3 separate regions of the Homo sapiens genome follow, and regions 1 and 2 are each linked to region 3. Evidence: promoter capture Hi-C in 16 types of primary human blood cells and fetal thymus (Javierre and others, 2016). All regions are on one chromosome and are shown on one strand. Each heading gives the region's core, a stretch centred on a gene start or on the middle of the fragment in contact. The rest is flanking DNA. Distances are from core to core; before and after follow the strand shown.

What was found. The method cuts DNA at HindIII sites, captures the fragments that hold promoters and counts their contacts. A CHiCAGO score of 5 or more calls a contact.
Region 1: a contact is called between a fragment that was not itself captured here and the fragment with the promoter of OCIAD1-AS1 in region 3, in 9 of 17 cell types (naive CD4 T cells, naive CD8 T cells, naive B cells and 6 more). The highest score is 8.0, in naive CD4 T cells.
Region 2: a fragment that was not itself captured here is called in contact with the fragment with the promoter of OCIAD1-AS1 in region 3 in 1 of 17 cell types (endothelial precursors); the score reaches 5.1 in endothelial precursors.

Annotation. Positions count from the first base shown.
Region 1 is chr4:48,617,615-48,621,040 of GRCh38, reverse strand. FRYL (FRY like transcription coactivator) reads left to right here. Exons shown (of 64, transcript NM_015030.2): 6 at 263-402; 7 at 1,671-1,767. Among named protein-coding and RNA genes, the nearest start is that of ZAR1, 130 kb to the right of the region's middle. The HindIII fragment of the contact is 893 bases long and covers 1,544-2,436 here.
Region 2 is chr4:48,696,795-48,699,970 of GRCh38, reverse strand. The region is part of intron 2 of FRYL (FRY like transcription coactivator); the gene reads left to right. Among named protein-coding and RNA genes, the nearest start is that of FRYL, 82 kb to the left of the region's middle. The HindIII fragment of the contact is 943 bases long and covers 1,246-2,188 here.
Region 3 is chr4:48,858,193-48,861,478 of GRCh38, reverse strand. OCIAD1-AS1 (OCIAD1 antisense RNA 1) reads left to right here and starts at 1,276. Exons shown (of 2, transcript NR_146806.1): 1 at 1,276-1,322. It overlaps OCIAD1 (OCIA domain containing 1), which reads right to left. Exons shown (of 9, transcript NM_017830.4): 9 at 1-754. The coding sequence ends at 717. The HindIII fragment of the contact is 4,141 bases long and covers 328-3,286 here.

The DNA.
Region 1 (3,426 bases), core at 741-3,240, 240 kb after region 3:
ATGTGCGAGTGGCATATGGAGGCAGGGAAAAGGTTGAAAGCCATTGAGCTAAACCACGTGGATTTGGATAAAGTTTAATAGTGGGTGAAACTTAGCCAACTTTATTACTTGGCTAAACCCTTGACCCTTGCTTTAATTTTAAAGCACATTTATTGCATTGAGTTACTGTGTTTATTCATTTCTAAATGATAGCTAATAGAACTTAAGAGTGTGGTACATTCAGTGTTACAATTTATTTTCTGGTAATATCTTGTGTTTTCAGTTGATAAGCTCTATGAGCTCAGTAGCAGAGCACTGTCTCCCTTCCTTACTTCGCACCTTGTTTGACTGGTACAGACGCCAAAATGGAACGGAAGATGAATCTTATGAATATAGGCCTCGGTCTAGCACAAAGTCTAAGGGGTAAGTGCTTTATTTTACACTGTTTCACCTGGAATTAACACACTTCCAATGAAGGGGTGATATTATCAACTGAAGGTTGTTATTGTTTGATTCCTAAGCAAACTGCGTTGATTACTTTTGTTACAAAGATGGTAGTAAGGGAGAAGGATAGTTCACACATAAACTGTAAATCAAGAGAAGGTACCAGTTAAACTAGATGTAGCCCTACAGTACTCATACTGGGTATCATGCAAAAATTAGTAATACAAAAACCTATTTAGGAGTGCCATTTCAGCAGTTCAGTGAGGAGCTTTTAATAGTCATAAAGTTAAGAAAATATTCAAAGAAGTTCCTGTTCATATGGTTTATGAAGGGAGGCAATTATTGTAATACAGGAAGACTGCCAAAACCCTGTGTTATAATAGTACTATGATACTGTTCTTGGAGCTCAATTCCTAGAACTTGTTTTCTTCTCCTTCAAATTTCCCAGGATGATCTTGTCATGCATGTAAGAGCCACGTGTGTTCAGGTGATTGTCCATGGTTTAGTGTTGGACTTCAGTAGATGCCACTTGTGATTTTTCAACTTAAATTTGTGAGAAGGATACCTTGTACTGTATTTTCATGTTGAAAAGTTAATACTTTTGTTTCAGTTCTTAACAAAATACTAGTAATCAAATATGGAACAATGCTACATTTTCTAAATGAAATTTAAAATACTTTTCTTCTTCTTACTAATTCTTTTAGGTTAAGTTTAAATGCTAACAGATATAATAGTGAACTCTGAATAAACACCCCGTATATAAAAAGGGAAAGAACATAAAAACATGTTTTTGCATATGTTGGATTATTAAAAAGCTTCAGACCAGGCACTGTGACTTATGCTTGTAATCTGCTTTAGGAGGCTCAGGCAGGAGGATCACTTGAACCCAGGAATTTGAGACCAGTCTGGGCAATATAGGGAGATCCCTTCTCTAGAAAAAATAAAATTAGCTGGGCATGGTGGCGCTTGCCTGTAGTCTAGCTACTTGGGGTGGGAGGATCACATGAACCCAGGAGGTTGAAGCTGCGGTGGGCCATGTTTGCAGCATTGCACTCCAGCCTGGGTGACAGAACGAGACCCTGTCTCAAACCAAAAAGACAAAAATAAAAAACAAAAAGCTTCATATTAACAATTGCTGTAGCACATTTTACATAGTAGGAAAACAGTAAGCGACATGAGCTACTAACTAACAGGTATTTTTAAAGTCATAATCTTAATGCAGTACTAATTTTGGATTCTTGTTTCAGGGATGAACAGCAACGTGAAAGAGATTATCTTCTTGAAAGGAGGGACTTAGCAGTAGACTTCATTTTTTGTTTAGTTTTAGTTGAAGTTCTAAAGCAGGTAAGCTCTTTTATTTCTGCAAAGTCTGTATTCCTTATTCTTTGCTTACTGTGCCTTCGTGTTTCAGTTACTTTAAGATGCTGTGTCTAGAATTTTAGCCCACATAAATTAAATTCCTGTAATTTCATTATACTTCTTTCAGTTGCCTGGGGCTTTCCTGCCCTGTACCTATCTGTTATCTCCTCTATTTTTTACCTTTGTATGCTTATCCAAGATATAAAATCTTGTTAGCAAAATGGAGCTGAATGGAAATTGTGTTAATATTGACCTTTAGCTGTAAATGTAGTTTGCCTGCCATTCAGCTACTTCAGTCCCTTATTCCACTTTATTTCTCCTCTAAGCCCCCAAGCCTGCATTCCAACATGTAATAATTGTGCACTTTTAGTAGAGGCATGGGGTGATTTGATAAGGGTACTGAATTGTCATGTGCAAATGTTTTTCAGTCAAGTGAGAATACTTCAGATAATAAGTTAGGAATGTTTATTCATTCAATGAGTATTAGAATGCCTACTGTGTGCTGGCACTGTTTTAGGCAATAAACTCATGAGCTTGCACTTGAATGGGATAGATACACAGTAAAGATATGAATATATAATATAGTGTCAGGTATAGTCTTAATATTTTTATTACTCCAGATCAGTATAAATGCCTGTGCTGAATTTGAAAGCTTTTTTTTTTTTTTTTTTTAAAGATCATGGTCTTTAAAGTTATATCATTCAAGGATGATCCATGTATTTCCAGGCACGAACATTGTATTCTTTTGAAACAAGTTAGGAAGCCTAAAGGTCAGAGTCATATTTTGGATATGACACATTTGGACAGGGAGTTTTGTTTTTGTTACATAGAAAGGAATATGTGACAAACAGCAAATACAAGATATAAAATTAATTGACAGTCTGTTTTTCTCATAGTATAAAAGTACTTGAATTATATAATCAGTTTTATTTAGCTTTTATTTTTACAAGGAATATGAAAAGACAGTTCTTTGGTACTCTGAAATCTGCAAATAAACATAATTTTAAATATGTAAAACAGAAGAGTTAATTAAAGGTTAAATCACTTTAATATATGCATTTCATAAACGTTTTTTGGTAGAGGTAGGAAAGAAATCTCCTCTGGGAGTTGTGCTAACAAGCCAAATTTGACTTCTGTGATCTCTTGGTTTAACTGAGATACTAAGACCTTAAGGCAGCAGTCACTAGGATAGGAAGAGCTAAGGACTGGATATGGCCACAGCCCAGCAATGGACTCTGACTACTGCTCATTGTGATTTATCCCTGGTGTATCTTGTGTGCTAAATGTATTTCATTTAAGTGGATTGGTAACCAGTATTTGTACTTTTTTGCTTAAACAGTATAGGGTTTCTTCCTCCAGCCAGAGAAATGGCAGACTCCCTACATTAGCATTCAGGAACCCCAGTGACCTGGCCCCATTGTGCCTTCCTCCTTCGTTCATTTCCCATGGCATCCTTTTCTTAGATGTCAGTCTCGCTCCTCATCCTAAAGTTGCCCAATTGCACTGGCTTCAGAACTACAATTCACAGGCAACCCTGTGGAGGCATTTTTCCCATCTCTTCCCCCTCATCCTCCCTGTCCTCTTCCCCTCCTTGTTGCCTTTGTAGCCCTCCTCCTCCTCTTTTAACACAGTCCAGATAGGTCT
Region 2 (3,176 bases), core at 468-2,967, 160 kb after region 3:
TTTTGTCTTTTTGCTTTACTCTAATAAATATTCTAGTTAACATTAATATCTAGCTTAATATGATTTAAATGTATGTTAAAATTCTTAAGAGTAGTAGCAAATCTAGATTGGGAACTGGATCTGTAGACAATATTCAAAAGATACAATTCAGATGACCCTGAACACCAGTAAACTGATCCAGGGGCCAAATATTCTCTCAAAATAGAGGAGGAAAAAGGAAAAGAGGCATGTAGGGACCCAGAAGAAGAAGGGCGATTTATGTGGAGTGGAGGGAATTTTCATGTTAAACCACAGGTAGGGCTTGTTTACTTTGTCACATTTTCCCTGTAATAGAGAAACTGCTGAGCCAGAATTGTGCAACTGATTGAATTAGCACCTTGTTTAAATTGTTAGCATCCATCTTTGAGAAGCATGTATTTTAGATTAAAGATTTAAAAATCTTGGCTGAAACAAAGGACAATCTCTTTCCTTTATGAAGTTGTTCATTGAACTTTAAATAGTAAGATATTAACAGATGAGGATTGAATTTAGTCTTCAAATAAGCATCTCTGTGATTTGTTGGTCACAGTATGATCTCTTTCCCATCCCCCACTATTTTTTACTTTTGATAGGGCAAACTCTTATGTTTTCATGAAATATTTAAAGCAAATGATGTGTTAATTATGTTTAGTTATCCTTTTTGAGAGTTCTCTAGCTTTTTCTGTTCTGAGGTTCAGAATCAATATAAGGACATATTGAAATCATAATTGCATTTTATCTTCCAAACAGCCATTGAAAATAATTGCATTTTAATTTGAGAATTTTATCTCAACTCCATATAACAGCTTATACTTTAAAATATAATCCAGAGGTACAGTACTTTTCAGTTCATTTATTAGCTTTGTCAGTTTCCACATTTGTAAAGTTGAACATTTACTGAAATTATGGGCTGGTTTGGGTTAAAATGAAGTAACATATGTGAAGCATCTTAGATGGTCACACATAGTAGGCTCTCGGTAATTAGTCGTTGCTGCTGTTGTTATGGGTATTTAATTAACTTGGATTTCTAGGGCACCATTTGTTAGAGTGCAGTGAACCAATTCTGAATTCTACCCTCCTATATTTGTTACTTGTTTAGACTGACTTAACCACTGTGGAGAATAAAGCCTATTTGTGGGGGTTGGGGTGGGGGTGGTGCCTACTGACTCTTATATGCATGTTTTTTCAGAGTTACAGGATGTGTACTGGAATGTGAAGGATTAAGCTTTGTGGTGGCATGTTCTATATGGTCATCCATAGTGACCAAACTAATTTGGAATGTTGTTTTGTTACTAACTTGGAAATGTGTTATTTTCTCTACAGAGGATGTTGATCTGAATAAACTGCTTATTATGCTTTATACATTTCTAGAGCGAGAGGAACTGTCAATCAGTGTAAATCTCACCCAGCACAGTATTTTCTTTCACAAACATGGGGAGGAGGCAATACCAAGATAACCACTTTTGGGACAGAGCCAGGAGCTGTTGTGTAACTCAGAGGGTGTGTGATAGCATCCAGCTTTGGAGCCCATCACGTCACATTGAGAAATTGTGGCAGGGAGGCTTACAGGAAAAACATCTTGTTTATTAACACCTGAATATGTTACTTATGTAGCTTTTTAAAAGTCATCAGTTAGCTAGCTTCTCAAAGAGAGGCAAGAACCCATTCGCGTAGTTACAGATTGTGGCTATAGTAAGTCTTCTGGTAACAGGAGCTGTGAGCACCACTTCTTCAGTGAAGTCTTTCCTGTTCCCTTCTCCACTCAGGTTGATGACTGTCTCCTTTGTACCTGGTTGCAGCTTGAACATATTTAGGTAACTTCTCTCAAAGCACTTGAAACATGCTACTGCCCATGTCTCCTTTCCAGCTTGTCTGTAAACTCCTTGATGGTAGCAGCTGTGTGTGTAAGTGCCACTGAGTATAGATTCCTGGAGCTTAGGTTGATCCCCAGTAAATGTTAAATGCAGGTCTCCCTGTGCCTGTGGAAATGCCTCAACATCAATTGGTTCAATTGTATCCTTCAACTTGATCACTAACAGGTCTTTAATGAAAAGTCTCCAGAGATGCTATTCCCATTCTGTACTATCCTCATCATTACCATTCTTATTTCTTCTTTGCCAATGCAAATTCTCTATTTCATTTTTTTCTTTAAGTACTTCTCTATGAAGCTTTTTAAAAGTATGCTTCATTTTAGGGCCAGACATGGTGGCTCATGCGAGGCCCATGCGGGTGGATCACCTGAGGTCAGGAGTTTAAGACCAGCGTGACCAGCATAGTGAAACCCCATCTCTACTAAAAATACAAAATTAGTCGGGTGTGGTGGCGTGCACCTGTAATCCCAGCTACTCAGGAGACTGAGGCAGGAGAATTGCTTGAACCCAGGAGGCAGAGGTTGCAGTAAGCTGAGACACCGCAGCCTGGGGGACAGAGTGAGACTCCATCCCAAAAAATAAAAATAGAAGTATGCTTCATTTTAGTTAGTTTATAATCAACATTGAGAAATCCAAGAAAGGTGAGAAATGTAAACTAGAGCTGGAGATTTAAAATTGGCACCTGTAAAAATACATTATTTTTTGAAGTAAAAAAAGTTTGTAAACATTTCCCTTGTTTACAAATCTGAAATTATATTAATTTTGGTAAAATTCTAGATTTTTTCCAAATAAGTCAAAACCTCAAAAGAATGGAAATTTTAGGTAAAATTTAGGTAAAAATGGAAAGAAAGTAAGAGTCATAATTTTCAGGCTGTTATAAGAAATGTCTTTTACTGTATCATATGGTATTTTATAGTATATAAAAATATAGGAATTGACCTTATTATCCTTAGTGTACAAGGTTTTATTGTGGTTTAAAATTCCAAGTCTTCGATGTAGCTTCCTTTATTCTTCTTCTTCAGTTACACCATAATAGTTTATTGAAATTTGATGCATATAGGAAAAAACCTTGTAATTGACTTTTTTTGGAGAAAAATTATTCATTTTAAGACAAAAGCAGAGATTGTTTGAGCCAAAACCTGATGGATTTAAGAGTGCTGTTGATCATGGTTGACTTGTGAAAGTGATAGATAGATAGATAGATAGATAGATAGATAGATAGATAGATAGATAGATCTCTTATCGTTATTTTTCTTTTATACTGGGCTTATGTTTTTTTTTTCTTAT
Region 3 (3,286 bases), core at 27-2,526:
CTGGACTCATGCAATCCTCCCACTTCGGCCTCCCAAAGTGCTGGGATTACAGGCATGAACCACTGCCCACTGCCTCCAGCCATATTATAGATTTATAGCCATATTATAGCCATATTATAGAAATATTATAGATGACTTTATTTCCTATACCTACATGATTATAACTAGCTTAAAAATAAATCAATAAATTACAAACAATAAAACCATAAAATCAAGGAAGATGAGGGCTGTTGCATGTTCCTTTACATTTTATTTGCCATAAACATTAAGATAATACAGAAAATACTGGAGAAAAAAAGCTTTTTAATAATTTCTTGATGCAAAGCTTCACACTTAAAAATTATGCTTGCTCCCCCCATCCACCCCAATTCAACATGCAGATATCATTTATTTTCTTATATGCTGATTCTAGAGCATTGTAATCTCGACGGTTTTTTAAGAGTTATCTTTGCCCTTGCAACAATTTCACAAACTGTATACAATCATGGTATAATACCATCATTCAAATGAATCCCTAAGGTGAGTACATTTACACAATATTAACACTAAAAATCTGTGTTTTTTTAAAACACCATAGAAGTCAAACCACAAAAACCCAGGATCTTGTTTTAAATGTGTTTATGAAGACTGCTGCTGAGCTCAAAGCATGCAGGTAATCATGACCACCTAGATGAAGCTGGATGTTGAAACTCCTTCATGTCCAATGATGTAATTTTTCACTCATCCCAAGTATCTCCATACTTGTTTACTTTGACTAGGAAAAAAGCATAAATAATTGATGATTCCAAGCAATAATAAGTAAAAGACATTATTTTAAGTTTGTTGCTATGATGAAAAGTTATGTTTCTCTCTCATTTGAATAAAAGCACATGAGAGTCAAATTATAATTACAAAAAGGGGATGACCAGACTTTTGTGAACTTGGGGTTGGACAAATGCATTGTATCTAGAATTTTACATAAATAGTTAGTCCTCATAACAAACTTCTAAACACAATTCTCATTTTAATGGTGAGAAAAAAGATTAGTAACTTGCCCAAGGTACAAGCCCTAACAAGAACTGAGATTTGAGTATAGGTCTGTTTAGATCCAAAGCCTAGGTACCTTTACATCTTTACCATACTACCTAAGTGTGGCACATATTAAGCCATATACAAAAAAAAAAAAAAATAGTGGGAAATAATAAAACAAACATTTGAATTTTCGTTTTTCACAAAAAATACAGCAGTAGAAATGGTCAAGTGTTCAAGTTGTAATTAATTCAATCTTCTCTCTCAGGGCTGTAAATACTACTATAAGAAGAAAATACTACTACATTTTACAGGTACTCTATATTTTACATTTTAAAACATGCTCCGCTGTCTATTCTACTCCTTTACTTTTTTGCTTCTCTTCCACATAGCTTCTGTCTGTGAGTAATCATAACAATATAAAGCAGCAGTTATCACAGTGTGGACTCTTCAGGGAATACATGAAGTCAAAATTATTTCATTATTATACTAAGACATTATATATCCTTATGTTTCACATTTTGCCTTTTCCCCTTGCTCTCATTCCCTCATGAGTATATGTTACATGGTTTTCTAGAAGCTACAGGATGTGTGGTGACATTGCTCTGGCAGCTAATGGAATATGTGCTTGAATTTTTTAAATTTCTGGGTCTTAATTTCTAATTAGATAAATATCAACCACATAAGCTAAAGGTGAAAACTTTAAGTGACACTTTCTGACCATGTGAATCTACCCTGTACTAATTTCAACAATAATTCAGAAAATGACTGAAACTATTTCATAACAAGTCTTTTCTTTAAATTATATAAAGCACACAAAAAACCAGCTTTTCCCAAAAAAAGAAAAAATCATTTCACATTCTTGTGTCATGTAACAGAACTTGAAGACTTCAGTCAAAAATCAAAAATGTCAAAATCCAGCAAATGTTAAAGGTCTACCAAATTTCCTTTCTTAACCTCTATTACCATAGAAGCCTAAACCAAAATACTCAATTTCTGATACAGTGTAAAGTACTATGCTATGCAGACAATAATAGAAAAGATTACAAAAATGAGAAAAATATTACTTTCTGCCCTCACAGAGCTTACAATCTAAATCCTCAAATTAATTAGCAGGACAAAGTACCGACAAGTCTTTACATATTACAGAGCAATGGCCACTAGATGCAGTTTATGCTAAATGTTGTTTGATGACAAACATTCAAAAGTATGGTACATCCCTAATTCATTTCAAAGGTAGATTTTTTTTACATCAATAATATGATGCAGATATTATCTATCATTGTTATAAAAACAGAACTCCAAACGAAGCAACCGCTAATGATTAAAAATAAAATTAGCTCTAAAAAATGACCATAACAACAAATACTAAGGACTTTCATGTATTTTTGCATTCTTTGTGGCATATGACCTTCAAGAAGGTACCAAAGACCTATTATTTCCATTTTTAAAGTAGTAAATAGAAAATCTTGAAACAATGACACATACTCTGAAATTCCTTAAGAGAAAATCATAAAACCCTATACTGAAATAGCTATAAAACCCTATTCGAATGTCCTCTTCCTTTAGAGGTAAACTTGTATCAAAAAATTTACTTTGGCTAATGTATAGCTATTCCAAAAAGACTTAAAAGAAACCAGGATTTAAAAATTCATCTTTAAGAAATGCCTTAGAAGCTGGCATATAACTCTTTCAAATTCACAAATGTACAAGAAAGGTCAGGCACAGTGGCTCCCACCTATAATCCCAGCATTCTGGGAGGCCAAGGTGAAAGGACTGGTTGAGCCCAGGAGTTTGAGACCAGCCTTGGCAACATAGGGAAAAACCCACTGCACCAAAAAAAATTTTTAACAGCCAGGGATGGTGGCATACAACTGTAGTCCCAGCTACTCAGGAAGCTGAGGTAGGAGGACTGCTTGAACCCAGGAGGTCAAGACTGCAGTAAGCCATGATTACACCACTGCACTCCAGCCTGGGTGACAGAATAAAACCATCTCAAAAAGAAAAAACAAACAAACAGAACAAAAAAACACGAGAAAAACCCAAATGTACAAGAAAATCAATCTCATTACTCAATCATTCTGTGGTTAGGCCACAAGTGGTATTACAGCGCAACGCCAACCTCAGGTCACTACAGCAACTTATGCGATAGATGTATCATTAGGAAAATAAGACTATCAGATCTCCAAGGAGATTTGTTGTAAGAGAGAAACAGTCAAATGAGTATGTCTCTACCCTGTGTTAAACTAATCTTGCTGTCTTAAGACTTACTATTTGG